Regions from separate parts of the Homo sapiens genome. Here region 2 is linked to region 1. The links are contacts of gene promoters, found by promoter capture Hi-C in blood cells and fetal thymus (Javierre and others, 2016). All regions are on one chromosome and are shown on one strand. The core of a region is centred on a gene start or on the middle of the fragment in contact, and the rest is flanking DNA. Distances in the headings are between cores, read along the strand shown.

Region 1 (5,473 bases), core at 1,062-3,561:
CTAACTTTTCTATAATAAACAAGTATTACTTTTATTAGAGTGATTTTAATATTAATTATGAAATATTTCAAATATTCAAATATGCAGAAAAAAATTAACACATGCATTAGTTTTCTACTCACACACACACAAAAATTAATCCCAGATTGATTATGGTACATAAATATGAAAAACAAAATGGAGAAACTTTGATAACAAAATATAAAAGACCCTGTATGTGAAAAATCATTTTAAATGGTCCATTTTCAAGGCATGATAATTCTAAGTACTGGCAACCAGCCTGCAAATGTAATAAACCACATGGCTCATGCACCTAGAAAGTCACAATAAATGAACAGAATGTAGAGGAGGGGTCAGCCCATAAAAGGGAAGAAAGTTTCATTATTGGGAAATGGAAACTTAATCAGGGAAGGGGACCAGAGTATAACCTTATAAAGGGGATAATGAAACTTAGGCAATATCTGGAAAGATTGTAACCCCATAGTACTCAACCAATGAGGAACTGGGGGAGGGACTTGCATGCTAGGAGATAAATTACCTGCTGTAACTGCCCCGGGTATGCCTGCCTACCAGACACCTGATCTTGCAAGACTGCCATTAAAAGTCTCGCTTCTGCTGTTCTTCCTATCTCCAAGTATCTTCCTTGAGTTTGGATGGGAGAATATGTTTCTTACAAACTTGGGAATCCATCCGGGATCTCTGTGTTTGCATGGAGTGGGACTCTGGCCAAGAGGGGAGATGCAGCCCACTCAATTTAGGAGGCCCACTCTGTCCGGGTGTCCCAGCTCCCCATAGAGGCCTTAGACAAATCTGAGACTGTTATTCAGGAGGCAACAGAGGCAACACAGGGAAAAAAGCAGGCACCACAACAACCAGGTAACCTGGTGCACAAGCCAAGGTAGGAGAATTGGACTATAAGTACTGCCTTGGTGGTTGGACATTTTCGGAGGTTGAGCATGTGTGACTGAGATGTATCCTAGATACAAAGCGAGTGCAGAGTCCCAATCCGCAGTTCCGTTCTCCTGCAAGTAATTCTCAGGGTGTGCAAGAAACCTCCAGGAGGGAGTGTTGAGTACACAGGGAAACGCTCAGACACAGAGACTGACTGAAAATGGGAAACAGAAATTCTAGGCCTAGGGGACAAAGGAAAGAGGGAGCTAAAGACTCCCTCTGACATTCCCATGGATAGTCCTTTGGGGAGAATGCTACAGGTTTTGAGGGACAACCCTTGAACCAGGGACAAGGAAAAGCAAAAGATAATAAAGCTTTGCTGTTTTATCTGGCCCAAAGACTCCATTCATAATCCTTCAGTCTTTTGGCCTAAGTTTGGTTCAGACAAGTGTTGGGTGTGCTGAGCTTTAATTCTCTATGTAAATAATAAAACCCCATCCTCACAAGAAGAGATAGGTTATGCTGTCTGCCAGATCAAGGAATTAGTTCCCATGTTCCCCCTCAAGAAAGGAGAAAAAGAGCCTAGTAAAAGCTCTGGGACCCCCCTATCATGCTTGCCTCCTCCATACGTCTCACAAAATAGGGGACAGGAAGATCAAGGGGCAACAAAGGGATTAGGGGAAGATTAGAAACCATGGGGGAGCCAAACCATCTACTTCTTTAAATCCTTATCCAAATCTAAGAAAACAATTACAACAGTGTAAGAGGACTACTGAGAACTTCCCTATCCCTTCCGCACAGCAAGCATCTAGCATGTTCCCTCTTAGGGAAGTTTCCATGGGACTGGGAGAGCTTGGCTTTGTAAATCCTCCTCTTATAAGTACTGATGTTAGGAATTTCAAGAAGGAAATGAAACCACTCCTAGAAGATCCCCTCGGTTTAGCAGACCAGCTGGACCAATTCCTAGACCCAGCTTTTACACCTGGGCCGAAATGATGTCTATTATGAATATCCTGTTCACAGGAGAAGAAAGGGGAATAATTAGGAGAGTGACCATAACCAACTGGGAGAGGCAACACCCTCCCAGGCAAGAAGTCTTGCCAGCCAAACAAAAATTTCCAAATGTCAATCCCGAATGGGATAATAATGATCCCAGGCACCAGGCCTGAATGCAAGACTTCAGGGAACTAATAATTAAAGGGATCAAAGAGTCCACTCCTAGGACACAAAATGTTTCAAAGGCATTCAAGATTCAACAAGAAAAAGGAAGAAACTCCCTCTGCATTCCTACAGAGGCTCAAAGATCAGATGAGAAAACACTCTGGATTCTATCCAGAGGACCCATTAGGGCAAGGCCTTTTGAAGGTCTTTGTAACTAAGAGCTGGCCTAACATTATAAAACAATTACAAAAGATCGATGGATGGAATGAGAAACAACCAGGAAAAGTAGTTTGCAGAAAACAATATCCCATTTCTATTGAAGGGAGAAAAGGTCTCCAAGCAGTAATAAAATGATAAAAGATGGACTATTAGAACCCTGCAGGTCACCATACAATATTCCAATTCTCCCAGTCAAAATATCTGGTGGGTCATATAAATTGTTGCAAAATCTAAGGGCTGTAAATCAAATTGTCCAGACCCACCACCCTAGGGTGCCTAAACCCTACACCCTCCTTAGTAAGATACCCTATAAACATAAGTGGTTCAGTGTGGTGGATCCAAAAGACACATTCTGGGCATTTCCCCTAGACTTTAGGAGTAGGGACCTCTTTGCCTTTGAATGGGAAATTCCTATAACTGGGAGAAAACAACAGTACCACCAAACTGTGCTGCCACAAGTTTTCACAGAAGCCTCAAACTTAATTGAAAAAGTCTTAGAAAAAGTCCTGAAGGAATTCCAACCTTCCGAGGGAACCCAGATGTTACAACATGTAAATAATCTTTTAATTTCTGGGGAGAGGAGGCCCGAGGAATCAAAAACCACCCTAAACTTGCTTAATTTCCTAGGAAAAAGGGGATTACGAGTCTCTAAGAACAAATTGCCATTTGTAAAAAAAAGAAGTTAAATATTTAGGAGACCTGATTAGTGAAGGGAAGTAGAAAATAAACCCAAAGAAAATATCGAGGATAGTGGCTCTGCCTTTGCCTTAGACAAAGAGAAACCTCCAAAAATTTTTAGGTTTAACTGGCTATTGTAGGTTATGGATGAACTCATATGCTCAAAAGACAGAGATTCTGTATCTCAAGTTACTAAAGAGGAACCCAATCCCTTGCAATGGTCCCCAAAGGAAATTCAGGCAGTAAAAGAGCTAAAGCAGGCCCTCATCACAGCCCCGGCCCTGGCCCTTCTGTCTTTAAAGAAACTATTCCATCTGTTCGTCACAGTAGATCAGGGCATGGCCCTTGGAGTGCTCACTCAAATCTGGGGAGGGAAGAGGCAACCTGTTGCTTTTGTCTCCAAGCTTCTCAATCCTGTCTCTCAGGGGTGGCCTGAATGTGTGCAAGCAGTAGCTGCCACAGCCCTGCTGGTAGAAAAGAGTTGAAAACTAACCTTTGGTGGGGCCCTAATAGTAAGCATTCCATACCAGGTCAGGAATGTATCAAATTGAAAAGCCGGGAGATAGTTAACGGATTCTCAGTTTCTAAAATATGACGCCATATTACTAGAAAAAGATGATTTGGTTGTAACCACAAATGCTTGCCTGAATCCAGCCAGTTTCCTATGGAAAGGAGAGGAGAACAAAGAGATATCAGACTGTAACTGTTAGATATCATAGAATACCAAACCAAAGTTAAATCAGACCTCAGGGAAGCTCCACTACATGATGGGACAAGGCTGTTTGTGGATGGGTCATCCCAATGATAGATGGCAAGAAAAATAATGGTTATGCTGTCCTTAATGAAAATAAACACTCCTTATGTGAGAAGGGTAGATTACCTAATGGCTGGTGGGCCCAAACTTGTGAATTATATGCTCTTAACCAGGCCCTAAAACTCAAAGGCCAAAAAGGCACCATACATACTGATTCTAAATATGCTTATGGGGTGGTACACATTTTTAGAAAAATCTGAACAAAGCAGGCCCTAATAAATAGCAGGGGAAAATAATTGGTGCATGGGGAACTGGCCAAACAGGTTGTAAAAAGCCTCCTGCTTCCAGCAAAGTAGCCATAGTTTATGTAAATGGTCATCAGAAAGGGAACACTATAGAAGCTGCAGGAAACAGGCTTGCAGATAAAGCTGCTAAGCAAGCCTCCCTGGAGGAAGATATTATACTATTTAGCTGGATCCCAGACATTCCTAAGGTAGTATTAAGGCCCCAGTTTACCAGAGAGGAGAAGGAAGAATTAGACAGACTAGGGGTCACTTAAACTAAAAATAAGAAATGAGTACTTCCTGATGGGAGAGAAACAATCAGTAAACCCTGATGAGAGAACTAATGTCTATATTACACAAAGGGAGTCACTGGGGACCTCAGGCTCTCCGTGATGCAATACTACAGGAATTTTACCCTCACTAAACAAGTATGTGGAAGTTGTGTAATTTGTCAAAGGATAAACAAAAAGGTAATTAGAAAACAGCCCATGGGAGGAAAACCTCCCAGACTAAGACCATTTCAAAGCATTCAAGTAGATTTCACAGAAATGCCCAAAGTAGGAAAACTAAAGTATTTACTGGTGATCACAGATTACCTTTCTGGCTGGGTGGAAGCCTTCCCCCTTCCCACAGCCACCACCAAGAATGTGGTCAAAATAATATTAAAACAGATTGTGCGTAGATTTGGCCTGGTGGAAAATACTGATTCAAACAATGGGAGCCACTTTACCTCAAGGATGTTAAGGGGAATTATGTAAGGTTTACAAATTAGATGGGATTATCACACCTCGTAATGTCCCCCTTCCTCTGGAAAGGTAGAAAGAATGAATCAAACTCTCAAAAAGCATATCACCAAACTAATCTTAGAAACAAAAATGTCTTGGACTAAATGTCTCCCAATACACTGCTTAGGATTACAACAGCCCCAAGAAAAGACTTAGGATTGTTCCCCTATGAGTTATTACATGGGGTCCCATATTTAGGCAGAGCTACAAATCTCCCTACTATGGAAACCAAGGATCAATTCTTAAGAAATTACATACTGGCCACATCCTCCACCCTGTCATCCCTCAGGTTAAAAGGACTTCTGACTCAAACTCTACCTCTTAAATTCGCAGTTCACCACTTCCAGCCTGGCGACTTGGTGCTGATCAAGACTTGAAAAGAAGACAAGCTCCACCCAAGCTGGGAAGGTCCCTATCAAGTGCTCCTGACCACTGAGATGGCCGCGCAAACAGCTGAACAGGGGTGGACTCACTATACTCAAGTCAAGGGACTGGTAACAGAGACCCCAGAAGAGAGAGGAAAAAGACCAGTGGAAAGTGCACGGGTCAGCTGAGGAACCCTTAAAGTAAACTTTGAGAAAAATCTAAAAAGAAAAAATGGGCTGGCCCCATTTCTGAAAGTTAATATGGCTGGGATAGGCTACTATACAAAGAGCAGAAGCTCAAAATGTAAAATGGCAGGGGACTTCTCCCTACCCAAT
Region 2 (5,473 bases), core at 2,131-4,630, 250 kb before region 1:
GGTATTTCTGTTCAGATCACTAAACTCAAGAATCAGCAATTCTCTGAGGCTTTCTTTTAAATATACATAAGGAACTTTCGGAGTGAAGGGAGAGTTTGTCAATAACTTGATGCATGTGAAGGGGAGATAAAAAGGTTGCTATTTTTCATCAACATATTTTGATTTGGCTTTCTATAATTGATGGGCTTAAAAGATCTAATCTACTTTAAACAGATGCCAAATAAATGGATGAATCTTAGACCCTCTATAACAGTAACTTCCTTTTAAAAAAGACCTCTCCCACCCCACCCCCAGCCCAGGCTGTGTATGAAAACTAAGCCATGTGCACAACTCTGACTGGGTCACCAGCCCACTTGAGTCCGTGTCACAAGCCCACAGATATTTCCTGCTCCCCAGTGGATCGGGTGTAAACTGAGCTTGCTCGCTCGGGAGCCTCTTGCTGGAAAATAGAACAGCATTTGCAGAAGCGTTTGGCAATGTGCTTTTGGAAGAAGACTAAGAGGTAGTTTCTGAACTTCTCCCCGACAAAGGCATAGATGATGGGGTTGATGCAGCAGTGCGTCATCCCAAGAGTCTCTGTCACCTGCATAGCTTGGTCCAACCTGTTAGAGCTACTGCAATTATTCAGGCCAAAGAATTCCTGGAAGGTGTTCAGGAGAAGGACAATGTTGTAGGGAGCCCAGAAGAGAAAATAAACAATCATGATGGTGAAGATAAGCCTCACAGCCCTGTGCCTCTTCTTCTCATTTCGACACCGAAGCAGAGTTTTTAGGATTCCCGAGTAGCAGATGACCATGACAAGCAGCGGCAGGACCAGCCCCAAGATGACTATCTTTAATGTCTGGAAATTCTTCCAGAATTGATACTGACTGTATGGAAAATGAGAGCTGCAGGTGTAATGAAGACCTTCTTTTTGAGATCTGGTAAAGATGATTCCTGGGAGAGACGCAAACACAGCCACCACCCAAGTGATCACACTTGTCACCACCCCAAAGGTGACCGTCCTGGCTTTTAAAGCAAACACAGCATGGACGACAGCCAGGTACCTATCGATTGTCAGGAGGATGATGAAGAAGATTCCAGAGAAGAAGCCTATAAAATAGAGCCCTGTCAAGAGTTGACACATTGTATTTCCAAAGTCCCACTGGGCGGCAGCATAGTGAGCCCAGAAGGGGACAGTAAGAAGGAAAAACAGGTCAGAGATGGCCAGGTTGAGCAGGTAGATGTCAGTCATGCTCTTCAGCCTTTTGCAGTTTATCAGGATGAGGATGACCAGCATGTTGCCCACAAAACCAAAGATGAACACCAGTGAGTAGAGCGGAGGCAGGAGGCGGGCTGCGATTTGCTTCACATTGATTTTTTGGCAGGGCTCCGATGTATAATAATTGATGTCATAGATTGGACTTGACACTTGATAATCCATCTTGTTCCACCCTGTGCATAAATAAAAAGTGATCTTTTATAAAGTCCTAGAATGTATTTAGTTGCCCTCCATGAATGCAAACTGTTTTATACATCAATAGGTTTTTAATTGCCTACATAGATGTCTACATTGAATTAACTCTCTTTTTGGCCAAGCAATGAAGTTTTGTAGTGAAGGGAAGGTTTGCTGCTAGCTTCCCTGTCCACTAGATGGAGAGCTTGGCTCTGTTGGGGGAATTCATGAAAGCACCATCTCACCAAATAAAATCTTGTGCTCTATAGCACCATGGAGTGAATGAAGCTTTGACAACAATTTTAAGAAACTGGGTCAAGCATGGTGCAGCTCAGCCTTTTTGTTGTTGTTGTTGTTGTTGTGAGACAGGGTCTCACTCTGTCGCCCAGGCTGGAGTGCAGTGGCACGATCATGGCTCACTGCAGCCTGGACCATCCCGGGCTCAAGCAATCCTCTCACCTCACCCCTCCAAGTGGCTGGGGACTACAGGCGCCACCACACCAAGCTAATTTTGTTTATTTTTATAGATACAAGATCACACTATGTTGCCCAGGCTGGTCTCGAACTCCTGGGCTCAAGCGATCCTCCTGCCTCAGCCTCCTAGAATGCTGGGATTACAGGCATGAGCCACCATGCCCGGCTGCAACTCAGTCTTAACATTTTTATTGACGCTAGAGTTAGCCCACAAAGAACATGCACTATGAGCAAGCCAGTAATAATTAAGAGGCCTCGAGGGCACATACTGGATGCCAATCACTGTTCTAAGCATCATACCCATTCATTCATTTAATCCTTAGGGCAACCTTATGAGGCAGGAAATATTTTTCACATTTTGCAGACAAGGACCTTGAAGCACAGAGAGGGTGAGTAACTTGCTCAAAGCCACACAGCTAGTAAGCAACCGATTTTGAATGCGGGAAGCCTGCACTCTTAACTACCATGCTACCCTCCCTCTCAGTCCTCGAAAAGAGAATTAAAAGGCAAGACCATCAGATGTTTGGTGACATGATGTAGTCAGAGTGAAATGGCCGGGTGCCCAAGTCCCAGGGAAGGTCATAGATGACAACAGCCAATTGTAAAATCCTCACATTTTCTGTGAAGTTTGTGTTTGTAGTTTCTGAGTTGCCACAATTAAGAGTTGTCATACATACCCAAGAAATAATATAATAAAAAATGTTTCGTCTGCCACCACAGATGAATGTCATGCATTCTGGGTAGTTTAGTCTTATAACCAGCTGTCTTGCCTAGTCTATTTAAGTTCAGCTGCTCTAGCTGAGAATTTTCTCTTATTAAACCCTGTGAGTCTCAAACTCCCTGCACCTTAGACTAGGCAGCTGAGAGAAGCCCCTAGAAAAGCTCATTTTTAATTTTGAACCATAAAGAATTATATACTAACTGTGCCATGAAACTGATATATTAGAGGAAAATTTTATTTGGCGTTTGTAATTTAATATTAATTTTGACCATTTTTAGGCTTCCCTCTTGTCTGGAGGAAAAAGAAAAAAGAGAACCAGACTTAGACACAACTTCTTGTGGGCACATATTCAGAAGGCATCTCACTGGAGAGGGTTTAGTTCTCCTTAGCAGAAGATAAGATTTCAAGATTTCAGCTAAGACTCATCTCTCTGCAAATCTTTCTTTTGAGAGGTAAGGATTGTTAGTTATTAAAATACTATTGCTCCCTTTAAAGTCTTTCACTCACAATCATGTTTTGTATCTTTGATGTTATAACCGTCTGAAACTCATTCCAAACTGTGACCCTTTCCTTATCTTAAAGATTATATTTTAAGATAATTGTATGAGCACTTGGTGTTTGCCAAATGTCTTCTATGGGTTTCCTGTAAAGTCTTTTACTCATCTCAGAAGCTAACTAACAGGCCAAGCAGCTGAGAGGTTACTTACCGGGGAGAGTTTCTTGTAGGGGAACGGATGTCTCAGCTCTTCTGGCCAGATGAGCTGTGCAAATCAATCATATAGACAGTATAAAAGTAGGAAATGCTGTTTCTTTTGAAGGAGGGTGGAGTTAAATCATTAAGTGTATTGAAGGCGAAAAGAATCAGAGAACAGTTCTTCTTTTTAAGTTGAGCTTAAAATAAGCTAGAGAATAGATCTCTGGTCTGAAGGTTTATTTACGGGCTTTTCTCACTGGATTATTTTGTTTTTGTTCTCTGCTCATCCCACTACACAGAATCTGTTAGAAAATATAAAGAATAAAGGATATCAGAGCTAGAAGAACATTTACATTCATCTAGTCAAAAGCCCACATTTTAGTAAAAGAAATTACTATCCAAGAAGCAAATGATTTGTACAAGATCACAGGGCTTTTCAACAGTAAGGCTAAAAGGTTAAGAAAATTCTGATTATCTTAAGAGTTGCTATTAATTAAAGCCAACTTAAACCAACTTTAAATGTAGAGGGGGATCCTGGACTTCACATTAACCCTGTGTCCCCTTTTTCTCCACTCTCCCCGTATCCCCTATCCCACCCCAACCCCCACACAGATGCTCACCACCCAATATTATTGTTCTCTGTAAACGGAAACAACCTGTTGTCTAAAGAGTTTTAACTATGGGCTCACGGGTGAGCTAAACAGGTTTCCCATCTTTTTCTGGACCCAGGATCTTAGTGGGGATTTTCACTCTGTTCACTATTTTGTTGCCCTTCAAACCAGTAAGCATTTATGAGGACTCACACTATGCCAGATACATAGGTGGCAGGATTCTTCACTCCAGATATAATCTATCTGAAGCTATGAGAAATTTTCCACATGACATAAGTATATGGTCAAGTTCAGGTTCTTTATGACTATACTATATACAGTCATATCAAGCTCTCTTGGCGGTTGGTGACATCTGAAAATCTCAAGTATTGTCAGCAGAGCTGAGAAGACAGCAGAGAGCTACTCCCGAGCCACAAGATGCCCTCTGGGCTTCCGTGACCTTGGCTCTAGAATAAAAAGCTTTGGCTTGTGATCTCTAAGAAGGCAAATGAGACCCCAAACAGCAAAATTACGTGCCCCCAATCCTACAGAGGCAGACTAACCCAGGGGCTAAGCCAGTGGCCTCTGTAGTCAGACTGCCAAGCTTGAAACCTGTCTTACCCTCAGCTTTCTCGTCTGGGTATTGGGCTGAATGACAGTAGTCATTTCATGAGTTGTTGGGAGGATTCTATGAGGCATCCACGGCCAGCATCTAGCACATACTATGCACTCAGTAAACATCAAACTCTTAGTTACTCTTTCAGCAGTCCTTTGTCAGAGAGAGTTTATTTGATCAAATCCTAATAAAATTGGTTCACCGGAGTCTCTGTCTATAGCAGATTAGTTTCAGCAAACTAGAAGCTGAAAAGGTAAAGCTAATTGCTGGTGCTTGGAGAATAGAAAGAAATGACTGCTTGGGAAAAGCCAGAACAGTATAGAAATAGCCCAGCGATCAAGACACCCCCACCCCCGCCCCATATAGGGACATATGTCTGTGCTACAACAGAGCTCAGTAACATAATCATAACAAGGACAGCGAATCATCGAGAAAATGTTCTAGTTCATCCCATATGTGCAATTCAAAAGGCATTGATTAAGAACTGCAGTCATGCTGCTGGGTTTAACCTCCAGCTTCATTACTGCTACTTGGCTCTGACCAAATTATTGAAGCTCTGTGCCTTAGTTTTCTTAACTGTAGAGTGGAGGTTTTAAAAAAACCCAAATACAAACTTACTCAATATGCCTGTGGTGGAGAGGGAATGATAACAAGTGTAGAGCCTTTTGGGCACCCACCCTCGGGGGACTGTTTAAGCAGGGAAATATAAAGTGTGCTTTTGAAAGAGTTCAAAAATAGGTAACAAATAAATTAATATAAAATTTTATAGAAAATAGATAGCATAAATACAACTTTGGTTTTTCGAAAGATAGATAGCCTTGTATTCACTGGTAATCCACTTGTGCAGAACCCCCGGAGGCTGCCGGACCAACACTGTATTTCTGTTTGTGGCAATTGCTGGTTCTTACTTTCACCATGCAGAGCTGAGGCTTTGCCATGTTCT

The links. The method cuts DNA at HindIII sites, captures the fragments that hold promoters and counts their contacts. A CHiCAGO score of 5 or more calls a contact.
Region 2: the fragment with the promoter of CCR5 here is called in contact with a fragment that was not itself captured in region 1 in 2 of 17 cell types (M0 macrophages and monocytes); the score reaches 7.8 in M0 macrophages.

The regions. Positions count from the first base shown.
Region 1 is chr3:46,113,416-46,118,888 of GRCh38, reverse strand. No RefSeq gene overlaps it. Among named protein-coding and RNA genes, the nearest start is that of XCR1, 89 kb to the right of the region's middle. The HindIII fragment of the contact is 2,088 bases long and covers 1,268-3,355 here.
Region 2 is chr3:46,368,853-46,374,325 of GRCh38, reverse strand. CCR5 (C-C motif chemokine receptor 5) reads right to left here and starts at 3,380. Exons shown (of 2, transcript NM_001394783.1): 1 at 3,338-3,380; 2 at 1-1,434. The coding sequence starts at 1,423. The coding sequence ends at 365. It overlaps CCR5AS (CCR5 antisense RNA), which reads left to right. Exons shown (of 4, transcript NR_125406.2): 3 at 2,909-3,082. The HindIII fragment of the contact is 2,671 bases long and covers 1,726-4,396 here.